4 separate regions of the Homo sapiens genome follow, and all the other regions are linked to region 2. The links are contacts of gene promoters, found by promoter capture Hi-C in blood cells and fetal thymus (Javierre and others, 2016). All regions are on one chromosome and are shown on one strand. The core of a region is centred on a gene start or on the middle of the fragment in contact, and the rest is flanking DNA. Distances in the headings are between cores, read along the strand shown.

Region 1 (3,227 bases), core at 542-3,041, 270 kb before region 2:
ATGCCATGGTGCAATCTGAGCTCACTGCAACCTCTGCCTCTCAGGCTCAAGCAATTCTCGTGCCTCAGCCTCCTGAGTAGCGGGGACTACAGGCATTCACCACCACACCCAGCTAATTTTTGTACTTTTTTTGGAGACAGGGTTTCGCCATGTTGGCCAGGCTGGTCTCAAACTCCTGACCTTAAGCAATCCACCCTCCTCGGCCTTCCAAAATGCTGGGATTACAGGCGCGAGCCACCACATGCGGCTATCAAACGGCATTTTAAAAAAGGGAATGAGGATGGTGACATGATTGGTTACTTATTCCCAGGTCAGTGGTTAGTGGCAAGTGGCCACTGAGAGTAGATAGGGGCCTTTCTAGATAATTGGAGGTAGTCAGCATGAAGTCACAGAGTAGACAAGACAAGGGGATAAAACCGTAGGCTAAAGGACTGAGATAGGTCCTGGAAAGTCCCAGGGGAATATTGCAGGCAGAGAATACTCTCTGAGCTGGGTTTTGCTAGCCATGGAGAGAGCCCAGGGCATCTAATGCCTTTTAAGCTAGAGCAGTTCCAATCTACCCATGTGGCCCCACACAACTTTGCTAACACCTCTGGATGTAAAGGTCCTTCTGTCATCTGGCAGTTTCTTTCAGAAGCTAGTGTGGGTATTACATTCACTTGTGGACCTTAAACATTTTGCTTCTAGGGAAAGACATGTAAGGCTCATTGAAAGCATCTGGCAAGTGTTTAGAAAAGGCTTCTCCTCTGGAGAGAAAGAAAAGCCTGGAAGAAGATCTGAATGTCGGATGCCTCAAGTCACTGCGGTCAACAGGCAGTGTTGCTGTCTAAGAGGGGCAGGGACCCTGGTCACAAGGCCCTGACACAAAATTGGGTAGAAATTGACTCAGCACTTTTCTTCTTAAGAAGCTCAGCCCTGATTTCACTCTCAGGGCAACAGAACCATTATCAAGATGGCCAGTGAGTTAACCAGGGTGTTTCCGAGATGAGGGAGTGAGGGTGTAATAAGACAATGGGAAGAAGAGGGTCTAAAAAAACACACAAAAAATCACCATCTGTAAGTGAAACTCTTCCTAGTTTTAACTACTTAGTTATAAATGTTAAACACACTGGAAATGGGTTATGAATCATCCAGGTAATAAGAGCAATTACTGTCCAGTGGTCAGTAGGAAAGAAAATAGCATAGTTCATCTGGGTTTTACTTCCAGGTCTATCCAATTGTCAGTGGGAGTCTCAGTCAAGCCCCTTAACCTCTCTGGGGACCTCAGTTTCCCCATCTTTAAATGACAGCATTTATTCTAAGTTCTTATCCAGTATTATTAACACTCTATGTAACAAAAAAATGCAACAAATTGTATGCGATGGTTAATTTTATATGTCAACTTGACAGGGCCACAGGGTGCCCAGATGTTTGTTTCAATGTTATTTCTGGGTGTGTCTGTAAGGGTGTTTCCAATGAGATCAGCATTTGTACCAGAGGACTGTGTGAAGCAGATTGCCCTTCCTGATGTGAGTGGCCATCATCCAATCAGTTGAGGACCTGAATAGAACAAAAGATGGAGGAAGGCAGAATTCACTCTCTTTGCCCAATTGATTCAATTGATTGAGCTGGGACGTTGGCCTTCTGCCCTCAGACAGTGACATATACCATTGGCTCTCCTGGTCCTCAGGCCTTCAGACTCGTACTGGAACAACACCACCAACTTTCCTGAGTCTCCAGCTTGCAGACTACCGATTATGGGACTTTTAAGCCTCTATAATCATATGAACAAATTCCTTGTAATGATCTCTTTATGTTTACCTCCTATTAGTTCTGGTTCTCTAGAGAACTCTAATACATTCTACATTTGGGGACAAAGATATTGCTCAAGGCTAGCCTTCTTATCTCCAGTTTTACTCAAAATAATTTTAGGAATTAAATACTTGGTATTTTCTCTCTTTGTTCCCTTCAAGCAATAATTAATTTTTAGTGGTTTGTTCTTGGGTAGGAATTAGAAACATTATGTAGCTGACAGAGGGCTACATGCAGAGCTTATAAGGAGGAGCTGCTTTCTGCAGCCAGTTTCTTGATGAGAATTCAGCAGGAGGAGCTCTTTAGCTGTGTGAACATCCATCAGAAGGGTAGGTAGTTAGCAGGATCTACAGTATTCAGCAAAATAAAATTCTCCCAGCAGAGAATGCCATGCTTCTTTACTCATTAAGGAATGGGTGAGCCCTTCCCTGACACCCTGACTGTTCCAGCCTGTAGTCAAAGTATCAATGGGAAATCAGGGACCCACATACCTACCAAGTCCTTTTTTAGGTCTTTTCTTTAAAGCTGGTTAGTTATCCCATACATCAGTGTGCCCGAGGTCGAGAAGAGCTGGAGGGGCTGATATTTAGCCAATGTGGTCGCTTCCACAGGCCCTCTTATTCTCATAGCAGCTCAGCCTCCCATCAGGAGGCATGGAGCCACCAACGCAGGGGTCTAAAAAGGTACCAGGAAGACTGGGCTTGGGCTGCCAATGAGGGTGCATCTGCCAGTGAGCTTTCACTTTTAGAAGATATGGCAGCTTCTAGCTAACTTTACCAGATGCTAGTTGTTGAACTCTTCCTCAAGTCTACAAGTGGAATTCTTCAGGGAAACATGGTGTTTCTCTGGCTGCCACAATATTTATTTATTTACCTACTCAACTATTTGGTGGAGAACCTCACAGGGCTTAGAGTGGTCTCAGCCAAATTGTCAGCTCATGAGGCTTCTGATCTGTTGCAGTGAGTTTGGATTTTTACCCCTCTGGACTGTCATCAACAGAAAACAGAGGTGCTTTGGGTTTGTTTGCTTTTTATTTTTTAAGGCTTTTAATACAAATGTTTTTAATACAAAATCACTTAGAGAAATACAGAAAGAAAATATCCTACAAGCCAGTTACTAAATAAAAAAAAAATCCCAACCAGCAAATTTGTCACATTGGGCAGGCATTAGAAAACAGGAAAAAAGAAAAAGAAAAAATAAAATACAACGTCCCTGAAGGCCGGGCACGGTGGCTCATGCCTGTAATCCCAGCACTTTGGGAGGCCGAGGCGGGTGGATCACAAGGTCAGGAGATCGAGACCATCCTGGCTAACACAGTGAAACCCTGTCTCTACTGAAAATACAAAAAATTAGCCGAGTGTGCTGGCAGGTGCCTGTAGTCCCAGCTACTCGGAGGCTGAGGCAGGAGAATGGCGTGAACCCGGGAGGCGGAGCTT
Region 2 (3,232 bases), core at 108-2,607:
AATGCTCTCTGGTTAGAGACACTTTCTTAGTAAGGGTGAGAATGCTTACTGATTGAACAAGCAATTATTACTCACTTACCCTGTGCCAGGCTCCAGTGCAATGGCTAAAATTTAAAATTTAAATTAAACTTAAACTTAGTCCCTGATCTCAGGATAGTTGCAGTCTAATGAGGAAGTCACAGCCAAAAATAAACTATGCGGTTACAATATAGTGTGGTCAATATGGTAATAGCAGTTAGTTCAAAATGGTAGGAGAAGAGTAAATGGAATGACTTCTTCTCCTTTCAAAGAAACCATAGAATCATGAAATAATAGAGATGAAGGAAGCTCAAGGTTCCTAATTTTGTGCATAAGGAAACAAGAAATCAAGAGATTGGAGGTTTCTCAGAGTCACAGAGTTAATGCAAGAGAACCTAAAAAATTCTAATGATGTAGCAAGACATACTTTAACTCACCAGGGGAAGTGCTAAGAAACTATGGCTTAGCAGCACTGGACTCTGAAGCTGGAGTTCTGGGTCCTGAAAAATAAGTAGAATTTGGACATAAAGGCATGGGGAAGGTTTAGATTTTCAGTGGAAGGCTCAGCCCATAGCTCAAAGGAGAACATGCTCACCAGGGTAATGACCTGGAGCTTAAGGATCTCAGGTGGTGGCCAACAGCTTAGGGCTCCCTCCTCCACATCAACTCTAGTTTTGGGCTTACACCTATTTCTTGCTGGATACGCAATTTAGAGGGATGCTCCCACCTCCAGTTCCACTCCTCTTTGGGGGTTATACTATACAACTGAGACATTGAACATGTTAATTTTACCTGGTGTATTGCTTAATTTCAATGTGACCTAGGGTTTGAACCTCTTATCTTAAATTCTTTAGTGACGTAACAGATTAACACCTCAAAATAGATGAAATGTCTCTCAATTATGACTACATTTGGTCAGTCTTGACTATATTAAGCTGCAGTTCACATGTGCTCTGTTTACCAAACTTAAAATCATTAAATCTATATTGAAATGTGTTGAATTGGCTCTCCATTCTCCCCATACTCTGACCTTGGTGTTCTCCTAGAGGTTTCACCTTCTCTCACACCCTACACATCCTTTTACACCAGTAAATACTATTGCTTCCCCTTCAAAATTTATCCAAAATTCAACCACTCCTCGCCATCCTCACTACCACCACCTTGGACCAAACCACTGTCATGTCTCACCTGGATTATGGGAACAGCCTCCTAACTGGTCCCCCATGTTTCAGCCTCGCCTCTGCAGTCTATCCTTAGCACAATAGCAGAGTGTTCCTTTTAAAAGAAAGTCAGATTGTGTCACTTCTGTATTCAAAATTATTCACTAGCCTTTCCTAGGTCCTTCCTATGATTGACATGACATGATCTGGCCCCCATGAACCTCACCTTCTCTTCTCTGGCCACACTGGCTTCCTCCTTGTCCTTGCTCATGTTGAGCAAGCCCCTACCTCACTGCTCCCTGCAACTGGAACACTCTCCCTCCAGATAAGCGCCTGGTGAGCCCCTTCACTTTCTTTAGGTCTTTTCTTGAAAGCTCCTTTCTTAGTGAATCTTATCTGGCCACCCTATCTAAAATTTCAATACTGATTCCTAGACATTTCATATACTCTATCCCTGCTTTATAAAATTGATTCTCTAACATTCATCAGTCAACATTATGTATTTTATTTTACATTTTATTTATTTGTAAAATTAACATTTATAAACACTATATATTTAACTTATTTTTGTTATTCCTTTTTCTTTACCCATATATCTGTTTCACGATGGGAGAAATAATTACCAGTTTTGTTCACTGTTGCATCCCAATAAACTAAGTACAACACCTGGCACACGGTAGACTCAATAAATACTTGTTGAATGAAAAAGTGAGGAAATGTTAACTGTGGCATAATAAATATTAATATTATAATTGCATTTACATATTCTCTTCTTGATAGCTATAATAATATATTCAAACCATAGGGAGACCAACCTGCACTATAGAATTTTATAACCTTAAGATGATTTAGACCCAAATTAAGGGACATTCTACAGAATACTTGATGAGTACTTTTAAAAGTGTCTACATCATGAAAGACAGGGAAAGACTGAGGAAGTGTCACATATTGGAGTGGATTAAGAAAACATACAATTAAATGCAATGTTGGATGCTGCTTAAGATCCTGGAAGAGAAAAAAAGACAATGAAATTCCAAAAAGATCTATTGTATTAGTACTGTACCCATGTTAATTCCCTGGTTTTGATAATTGCACTATGGTGATGTAAGATATTAAAATGATCTCATCTAAATGTCTAAATATCCTTTATACTCCAAGCAAGGCAGTCATTTAAATGGTAAACATGTTTTTTGAATGAGTACGCAAGAAGTAATTACCCTGATAATCACCAAACGATAATGAGGTAACCAAGATAGATGTGTGTGGTGGGCAGTTTTCTTCTTTTTACCTTTCATCCATCATTTTTCTGTGCTATGGTAGATTTACTCCAAGGAACCTAACACAGGTTTTCAAAGCAAATATTCCTTGGTCCATAAAGGGGTTTAATCAGAAGACACAAAATAGTTCAAAGAGTTATCTTTATACTCTCCCTTCTTTTAAAAGGTTAGAAATAACAATTGTCAGTTTAGTAAAATCATCTTGTAAATAACATCCCACTAATTTGAGATTACACAGTGAAATAATTGTATGCCATTCTAGGTCTCAGGAAAGCATGTTCTCATTAGAGGGAGAAAAATGGTTAAGAAAACTGTCACAGAGGGTTTTTGAGAATCATATTAACTAACAAGTCACCTTAGTTCTTCTGGAGTGGAGCACAGTGGAAAATAAAATCATAGAAACAGAGTTCTTCTGTCTAGAAGGCTGTTGCCCCGTTCCTCTCCAGCAGGAGGGGATGTGTCCTGTCTGTGAGAGGCAACTCCTCCTCAGGAGTAGAAAGTGGACCCCACCTACACTGGGCCACTTACCCATCTGCTTGCTGGAGGCATTTCAGCCAAGGAGAAAGACTTTCCCTTGGCCTTTTTCCACAAAGGGGCATAGCTGGGTGGGTACCCAGGGATAGGGAGAAACATTTCAATCATCTAGAGACTAGAAGAACTAAAGATTATTGATAAGCATTATTCATTTTTCTATAAGTCATAATAAAGATGTTTGTTTGGTAGGAAATATTCATTTTTCTATAAGTCATAATAAAGATGTTTGTTTGGTAGGAAATT
Region 3 (3,724 bases), core at 687-3,186, 310 kb before region 2:
TCTTCTAGGATTTTAAAGATTAGATCCAAAGTATATGTGAAAATGCTCTGTATGTTATAAACCACTATCTATGTGTTCGCTATTATTTTTATTACCTTCTGCACTGGACATGGGCTCTACGTCAGCTTAGAACATGGCTTAAGAGCATGGTTACCCCAATCTGTTTTTCTAGTAAAAATAGGTGTAGATGTAGCCTTCATTCCTTCATTCCTTGACCTTGAACAAGCCTTCCTGGGTGAGCTGACCAAAGTCTATGACATCTGCCTTCTTTTCCTAATATCAACAACTGTTTATTGAATATTTATTATATAGCTAGCACATTCCTTAGATATTCCATTGATTCCTTCCCAATGATCCATGTGCATGTGATGCCTATTTTTATGATCTTCACTTTGTGGAAGGAAATTGAGCCTTAAAAATGATCCTGCCCAATGTTAGCCAGTTAAGCATGTGATAAAGCCAGTACTTGAATCTGGAGACTCAGGCTGCAGACTGCAGATGCACATCTCAACTCAACAGAATGGCTCCCTGCCCTAGTTTGGGTTGATTATTGATCACTACAAAGATGTCATTTTAGTAATTTCACTTTTCACCTTCACTTTCCACCACACTATAAGGTTCTGTAACTCGGGATGTGGCAGTCATGTCTTCCCCTCCCATTTGAAGTCTTTGCTTCTTGTCCTGCACCTGTCTATCAAAAGGCTGGGAGGCTGGAATGTTGGGAAGTCACTTAGGTGGATAGCAAAGGGTTGTGTCATAGGATGAACTATGGATTTTTATGTTTCCTCAGGCTTTTCTCCCACAGAAACTGTTTCCATCGAAAGAGCTGTGTAAGTGCAGAGGCCTGAGGAGGCACCCAAGTGACATCCCTTATTAGATAAATTTAATTCAATTTCAGAATTTGAGTTTAAGTCAGGCTTTGGCCATCTCCTTCTCATCCTAGCTCTGAGAGCTAGACAGCAATAGCTGCCCAGGTCTTTCAAATTGTAGACTGTGGTTGTCACTGAATGGCATGTGCTAATGTCCTGCCAGGGATTTTTACCATTGTATTGTGTGTTTTTGCTGCATGGGAGGAGGAAACAACACGGTTTTGAGGAGCACTTACTCATATTTCTTTGGAGATGGCAGTTGAAACAACAGCTTTCCCCAACAGCCTCCCCAGGTATGTGAAATGTCGTCAGATGTCAGTTTTAGAGAAAAATCTCCATTCCATGGCAAAATAAATTAGGAGCTTTTTGTGCATTTTTGGTACACACATTGTGACCTAATTTCAAAAAGAAACTTGCCAAATATTTTTTCAGTCTCCAAAAAATTAAACTAGGCTTCCCGCCAGATATCTGGCTCTGGTTCCCAATCCAGGAACGGCTCCCAAATGCTGATTGTGAATAGGCTGTAGGTGAATGCCTTTTACAAAATAAAGTGCATTGTTTTTATTAAAGGTAACCCTAGCTGCAAAATCCTGAAACCTTAATACCTTGAAATCAGAAAGTTTATTTCAAGCTGAGTACAGTGGTGGCTGACAATGGTAGTCCTAGCTACTCAGGAAGCAGATGTGGGAGGATTACTTGAGACCAGGAGTTTGAGACCAGCCTGGACAGCACAGTGAGACCTTGTTTCAAAAAAGAGAAAGTTTGTTTCTTACTTATGCAAGTCCGACCAGGGGTGGGAAGGGTCCAGTCAGGTGGGACTTGGGCTGATGAAAATTCTGTCATCTTCATCTTTTGTTTTCTAAGCTGGGCCATAGCTGAGCATTGACATGGATCAAGAGAGGAGTATGGGAGGAGCAGGTGGAGGCCCCATTTTGTGGGCCAGACCTGTAAGTGGTATCTGCAGGCAGAGGCAACATTGACTGGAATTCAGCCACATGACCACATTCAACTGCAAAGAAGGCTGGGAATTGTAGTTATAAATGTATGCCTTAGAAGGAAGAGAAGTGGGCATGGTGAATCCCAGGTCTGTTTCTGCCACAGAGCTGTGCTTGAAACAGGGTTAGGGAGCTTCTAAGGTAGAGTTTGGCTATTTTCCATAACATGGAGAGACCAAGGTATTCCTTTACTTTCAATGTTATTCCCCTTGTTCAAACTGGACCCCTTGACCTGACCTTTCCTGAGCCACATGGTGGGTCAATCTCTTCTGGCTTCTTTGTTTGGATCTCAACTTTCCTGTTTCACTGAGAAGGCTGAGGACACTTCAGAGACCTGTAGATGGTCATCTGATATCCACCTGGCAGTGGAACACTGATAAAGTAAGCAGCCTTCCTTATGTCAGTCTATGAGCATCAGCTCTCATTTTGAACCTGTCAGAGTGTTTCTCATTGCCTTGAGACTCACTTACGGCTGGATGAGGCTCTTGGCAGCTCATGTGTTATTCCTCCCCCATTCCATTGTGAGATGGAGTTGCTGCAAGGCCATCCCTTTCCATGGTAACAGCCACAGACTCTGGTGCCACAGACATGGGCTGATGTCTCAGGAGGCAGGATCAGGCACATGGAAACAAGGGTCAGGGAGCACTTGTGGAGAGCCAGGAGAGCTCACTAATTCAGTCTGTTATTTCAGAATAGATAAGGTGTGTGTTTTTAAGGGGAGCTTCTACAACATTGTGTTCATTTAAACAGTGTAATCATTACACATGTTTTTCTATAATGTACCTCCAGGATTCATAACAACAGACAAGATAATCACTTTGCTCCCAGAAGCAGGAGACAGTGTGGTTTTGAATGTAATGTTGTTAAATAAAATTGCATATCCTCAATGATATTCTGGCATTCTTCTCTGAGTCACTATCCTCAGTCAAGGTATATATACATTTTTGTGCAGAATTAATGAGGAATTTGGAGAATAATAGGTTAAGAAAATATGGTTTGTATACAAGAGACTTTTTATTACAAATATCTCCAATTTGAAATATTTCCTTAAAAAATCAAAGCCTAAGGTACATTTCGTAGCTTAGTCTTCATATTTAATTTGATTACAGCAATGGACATTAAGTATGAAACAAGCTGTCCAAAGGGCTGTTGAATTATTTAATTACCTCTGGGATTTAGGAGGTGAGAGTCAGCATAAACAATTCCACAAGTGGGATGTGTTAGAAAGATCAGCTCTTTCTGTCTCAAGCCTAGTAATTTGAACGATGTGACTATCCAAACACCAGTTGCTGTTGAACAAAATATTAAATGCTTAAATCTGTTTGCAATATTTTACTTTCCAGATGGTCATTTATCCAAAAGCAGTACTGAATGTGTTTTAAAAGTATTTTCAGTTAAATGAATTTTCAATGAGGTTAACATTCAGAATTAGTTTTTTAAAAAGGAAAAAATATACTTACATTTAAGGACATTCTTTTATTACCATATATGTAACATTGAAATAGTTTCTAACAATCAAACTAGAAAATTAAACAGAATTTATTAAGGAAGTTTGAGCATCTACCATGTTCCAGTTCTGAGGATACAGGGATGCAGAGTCAGGGCTTCTTGCCCTGAATGATCCTGGAGTCTGTTCAGGGAAGACAACACTACAGTCAAGTTTTTTTGGTGTGATATTAGAAGTGTGAAGGAAATGCTATAAAATTCAGGTAAAAGGGTGATTAGTTATGCCGGGAGGCAGGGAGACAGGGAAGAGAAGCATCAGGAAAAAATACACTTAAGATGCACCATTTCAACTAGACTTACACAAGAATGCATGGGGGTTTGTGGGAATGCGAACCAATGAGGAAGCAGGTAAGA
Region 4 (3,531 bases), core at 1,015-3,514, 410 kb before region 2:
TAGGAACTGCGGATACGTCAGTGTGCAAAACAGAACAAATCCCAGCCTAATGGGATTAACATTTCAATGGAAGGAAGTAGGCAACAAACAAGACAAATAGAGACATTATACTGTATCTTAAAGGATGTTAATGTCAGGGAGAAACAAATAGCAGGACTGAGATAGGGAGTGCTGTGGGAGTGTTGCACTGAAATTCCATATAGCGTAGTCAGGGAAGGCCTCGCTAGAGTGACATTTGAACAGAAATTCAAATGAAAGTGTGTTCATGCATTATCTAGGGGAAGAATATTTCCAGCACAGGGAACAGCACCTTCTAAACCCTGAGGCGCGTGTGGCTGGCACTTTGGAGGAACAGAAAAGAAGTCAATGTGGCTGGAAAGAGTGAAAGAGAGGGAGAGCAGGAAAGGAGGTGAGAGAGGTTAGAGAGGGACAGATCATGCAGGGCCCTGTTGGCTTTTGAAGGACTTTGGTTTTCACACTGAGTGAGAAGGGAAACCCTGAAAATCTTGACAGAGGAGGGCCATGATCTGACTCAGGTATCATTGTTTGCCATACTGCAAATCAGTGGAAGGAGTGGGGTGGAGGGGCAAGAACAGAACCAAGGAGACTGTTAAAAGACCATAAAATCATCCAAAATAATGAAGGTAGCTTGGCCCAGGATAGATGTGATGGAGGTGGCAAAAAGTCATTAGATTCTGGATATCTTATGGATATCTTATAGGTAGAAGACATCAAATCTGCTGACGGATTGGACCTGGAAGTGTTACATGAAACAATTAGAGGACAATACAAATAATGATTTAAGTCATAATGGTAAACTGAGTCTGGTGGTTGGTGAGAAGGTGGACTTGAGTGGAAGAGAGGGTCCATACAGGCAAGTAATATCAGGTTGGAGATGATGGATAGGAATGGTGGTGTTGATGACAGAAATGAGGAATAGGGTTTATGGGATAGTTTTGTACGTGTTGAACTTGAGGTGATGGTGGAATCTTAATGTAGGAACATATGGGAAGTTTAGAATATGGAATTAAATAGAGATCAGGTGGGAAAGGTTGGTGTTAGAGATCAAAATTTGGGAGTACTTCTATAGAGATACTGGTTGAAGACAAGAGAATGAAGGACCTGCTTTACAGTAAGAGAGAAAACCAGAGGACCAAGGACCAAACCCAGGACCCAAGGGAAGCCAAGGTAGCTTGCGTTTCAAAGAGGGGCTGATCAAAAGTGTCAAGTATTGAAGAAAGCTGAAGGAAAATGTGGCCAGAGGAAAATCTCTCAGACATGGCAAGAAGAGTTTTAGTGAGGTGAGTGAGTTGGCAGCTAGATCACAGAGGTTGAGAAGGGAAGGAATACTGAGAAATGGAACAAAAAGGTATCAGCTCATTGTTAATGATACTAATGGGCCAGGTGCCGTGGCTCGCGCCTGTAATCCCAGCACTTTGGGAGGCCGAGGCAGGTGGATCACAAGGTCAGAAATTCGAGACCATCTTGGCTAACACGGTGAAACCCCGTTTCTACTAAAAATACAAAAAATTAGCTGGGTGTGGTGGTGGGCACCTGTAGTCCCAGCTACTCGGGAGGCTGAGGCAGGAGAATGGCATGAACCCGGGAGGCGGAGCTTGCAGTGAGCCGAGATGGTGCCACTGCACTCCAGCCTGGGCAACAGAGGAAAAAAAAATGATAATAGTAATCATAAGGTAATATCGAGAGTTCTTTCCAGAAGACTGGATCAGAGCAAGGAATTCTAGTTCATTCTGTGATGATTTTATTGTTCATCTTTCAGAATTTGAGAATGCCTTGCTATCACTCCTTCCTGTAATAGCTACTCCTTAAGGTGCATTTAAAATATGATTTTACAGATACATATGTATAAAACATATAAGAAGCTTATCTATTGTGTATACATACTTCTGTAATGTTATGTACCATAACCTAGCTCAGAGATTGGTAATATTTTCTATGTTATTTAATTCAGATTTACTCTGGAAAACTCAACATATGAAAATTCTGATTTCTAAAATAAATATAAGTGTAATCATGCATCTTCCAAAATGATTCTTTGCTTAATGGAAAAGCATTTTGTTTCTTAAACAGGAAACTCCCTAATGGATTAAGAAACAAACTATTTACAAACCTTGCATTTATTCTGGGTTTCAAGGTACACATCCATGTAGAATGTAAAAGGAGGCCTGTGTTTACTACTGAGATTTTGAAATTCGTTTAGCAAGAAAATATTTCAATGCTATGCCTTGTCTGCTTTTCCTTTTGCCCTCCCCATTTTTCTGATAAATCAGATCTTTCACTGTTCTTTTCTACTGACCCTTCATGACACAGCTTTGATTTTAAGACTACTTTGGGATGACCTTGCAGAGGGAAAATATTTTTTAGGCTTTCAAGATGATTCTTGGAATCATAGGTCCTTCACAAGCAGGAACAGACCTGTCAAATGATCTCATCCCCAGAGTCCTGTAGGCATGGAGCCTGGTCTGGATCCCCAAGGTTAGAAAGAAGAGGCTTAGAATTAGCTTTGCATTTCTAGACTTAACACCGAGACTCTCCTTTAGCAAAATTCTTCTCTACGTTCTCCATGTTGTTATTTTCTTTGTTCATTATCTTCACTCAGGCATCCTGGGTTTCCCAGGAAATCGCAAAGCTTCCATGGAAATTCAAATGGAAACTTTCTCAGCCTCATGAGTACTAGAGACAAAGGGCTTTGTTAATACATCATGTTTGTCTTTGCTAGCTTCCCCATTCAGTGTGTACTGATGTGTGTCCTCCTGGGACTCGGAAGGGGATTCGTTCAGAGGGAACCAATATGCTGCTTTGACTCCATCCCATGTGCTGATGGACACGTGTCACGGAAACCAGGTTGAGATGGTAATTTCTTCATTGATATGAGGATGCTATTAGATCAAACATGTTTTTGCAAAGAAGGCCTAAGGAGCCTTCTTTATAAATAGGTATGAATAACTTATAACAAAAATAATTAAAATCCATCAAATTATTGGATGTTTTGTGCACTGTGAAAAAAACATAGTATTGTGTTTCAGTTCTAAAGCTGCTACAGTTGGGAAAATACCTACAACCTTGAAGTTAATAGAGGAAAATGCAAAATAAAATATATGAAATGTGAAATATGAGTAGGATTCATAAAAAATATTTAAAATTATTTGTTTCTGAAATAAATTAAATGCTAGTTATATTCATAATTGGAAGACAGGGGACTTATAGTACTATGTTTTATTGAATTAGCTCTAATTTGGAGTTATAAGATCTAAAATTTCATCTCTAAAGGCAATTGGCTTAAGGTCATAAGTACTCAAAGTTTGTAAGACATATGATTTCTGTAACTACTGCTCTATGAATTCTTCACTATGGCCTGCCAAATTGCTGCTCTTTATGACCAGAATTTTAATTGGGTTTAGTGTGCTCGGTCTTGTGAAACATGTTGGAGCAGGTTTATTTTTATCTCTACCTTCTGTTAAAGATAACACAAAGTGTACTTGTCTTTTGTCAAATGGCCCTCAATAGCAA

Evidence for each region. Contacts are between HindIII fragments. The CHiCAGO score rates a contact against its expected background, and 5 or more counts as called.
Region 1: a contact is called between a fragment that was not itself captured here and the fragment with the promoter of KCNAB1-AS1 in region 2, in 6 of 17 cell types (endothelial precursors, M1 macrophages, megakaryocytes and 3 more). The highest score is 14.2, in endothelial precursors.
Region 3: a contact is called between a fragment that was not itself captured here and the fragment with the promoter of KCNAB1-AS1 in region 2, in 1 of 17 cell types (M0 macrophages). The highest score is 5.1, in M0 macrophages.
Region 4: a contact is called between a fragment that was not itself captured here and the fragment with the promoter of KCNAB1-AS1 in region 2, in 1 of 17 cell types (megakaryocytes). The highest score is 5.2, in megakaryocytes.

The regions. Positions count from the first base shown.
Region 1 is chr3:156,172,331-156,175,557 of GRCh38, forward strand. All of the region lies in intron 1 of KCNAB1 (potassium voltage-gated channel subfamily A regulatory beta subunit 1), which reads left to right. It also overlaps the pseudogene SNRNP40P1. Among named protein-coding and RNA genes, the nearest start is that of KCNAB1, 53 kb to the left of the region's middle. The HindIII fragment of the contact is 4,531 bases long and covers 1-3,227 here.
Region 2 is chr3:156,445,579-156,448,810 of GRCh38, forward strand. It overlaps KCNAB1-AS1 (KCNAB1 antisense RNA 1), which reads right to left and starts at 1,358. Exons shown (of 3, transcript NR_046618.2): 1 at 1,207-1,358; 2 at 456-518. All of the region lies in intron 2 of KCNAB1 (potassium voltage-gated channel subfamily A regulatory beta subunit 1), which reads left to right. The HindIII fragment of the contact is 8,289 bases long and covers 1-3,232 here.
Region 3 is chr3:156,130,128-156,133,851 of GRCh38, forward strand. The region is part of intron 1 of KCNAB1 (potassium voltage-gated channel subfamily A regulatory beta subunit 1); the gene reads left to right. Among named protein-coding and RNA genes, the nearest start is that of KCNAB1, 11 kb to the left of the region's middle. The HindIII fragment of the contact is 4,522 bases long and covers 1-3,724 here.
Region 4 is chr3:156,030,839-156,034,369 of GRCh38, forward strand. It overlaps the pseudogene VN2R1P. Among named protein-coding and RNA genes, the nearest start is that of KCNAB1, 88 kb to the right of the region's middle. The HindIII fragment of the contact is 767 bases long and covers 1,882-2,648 here.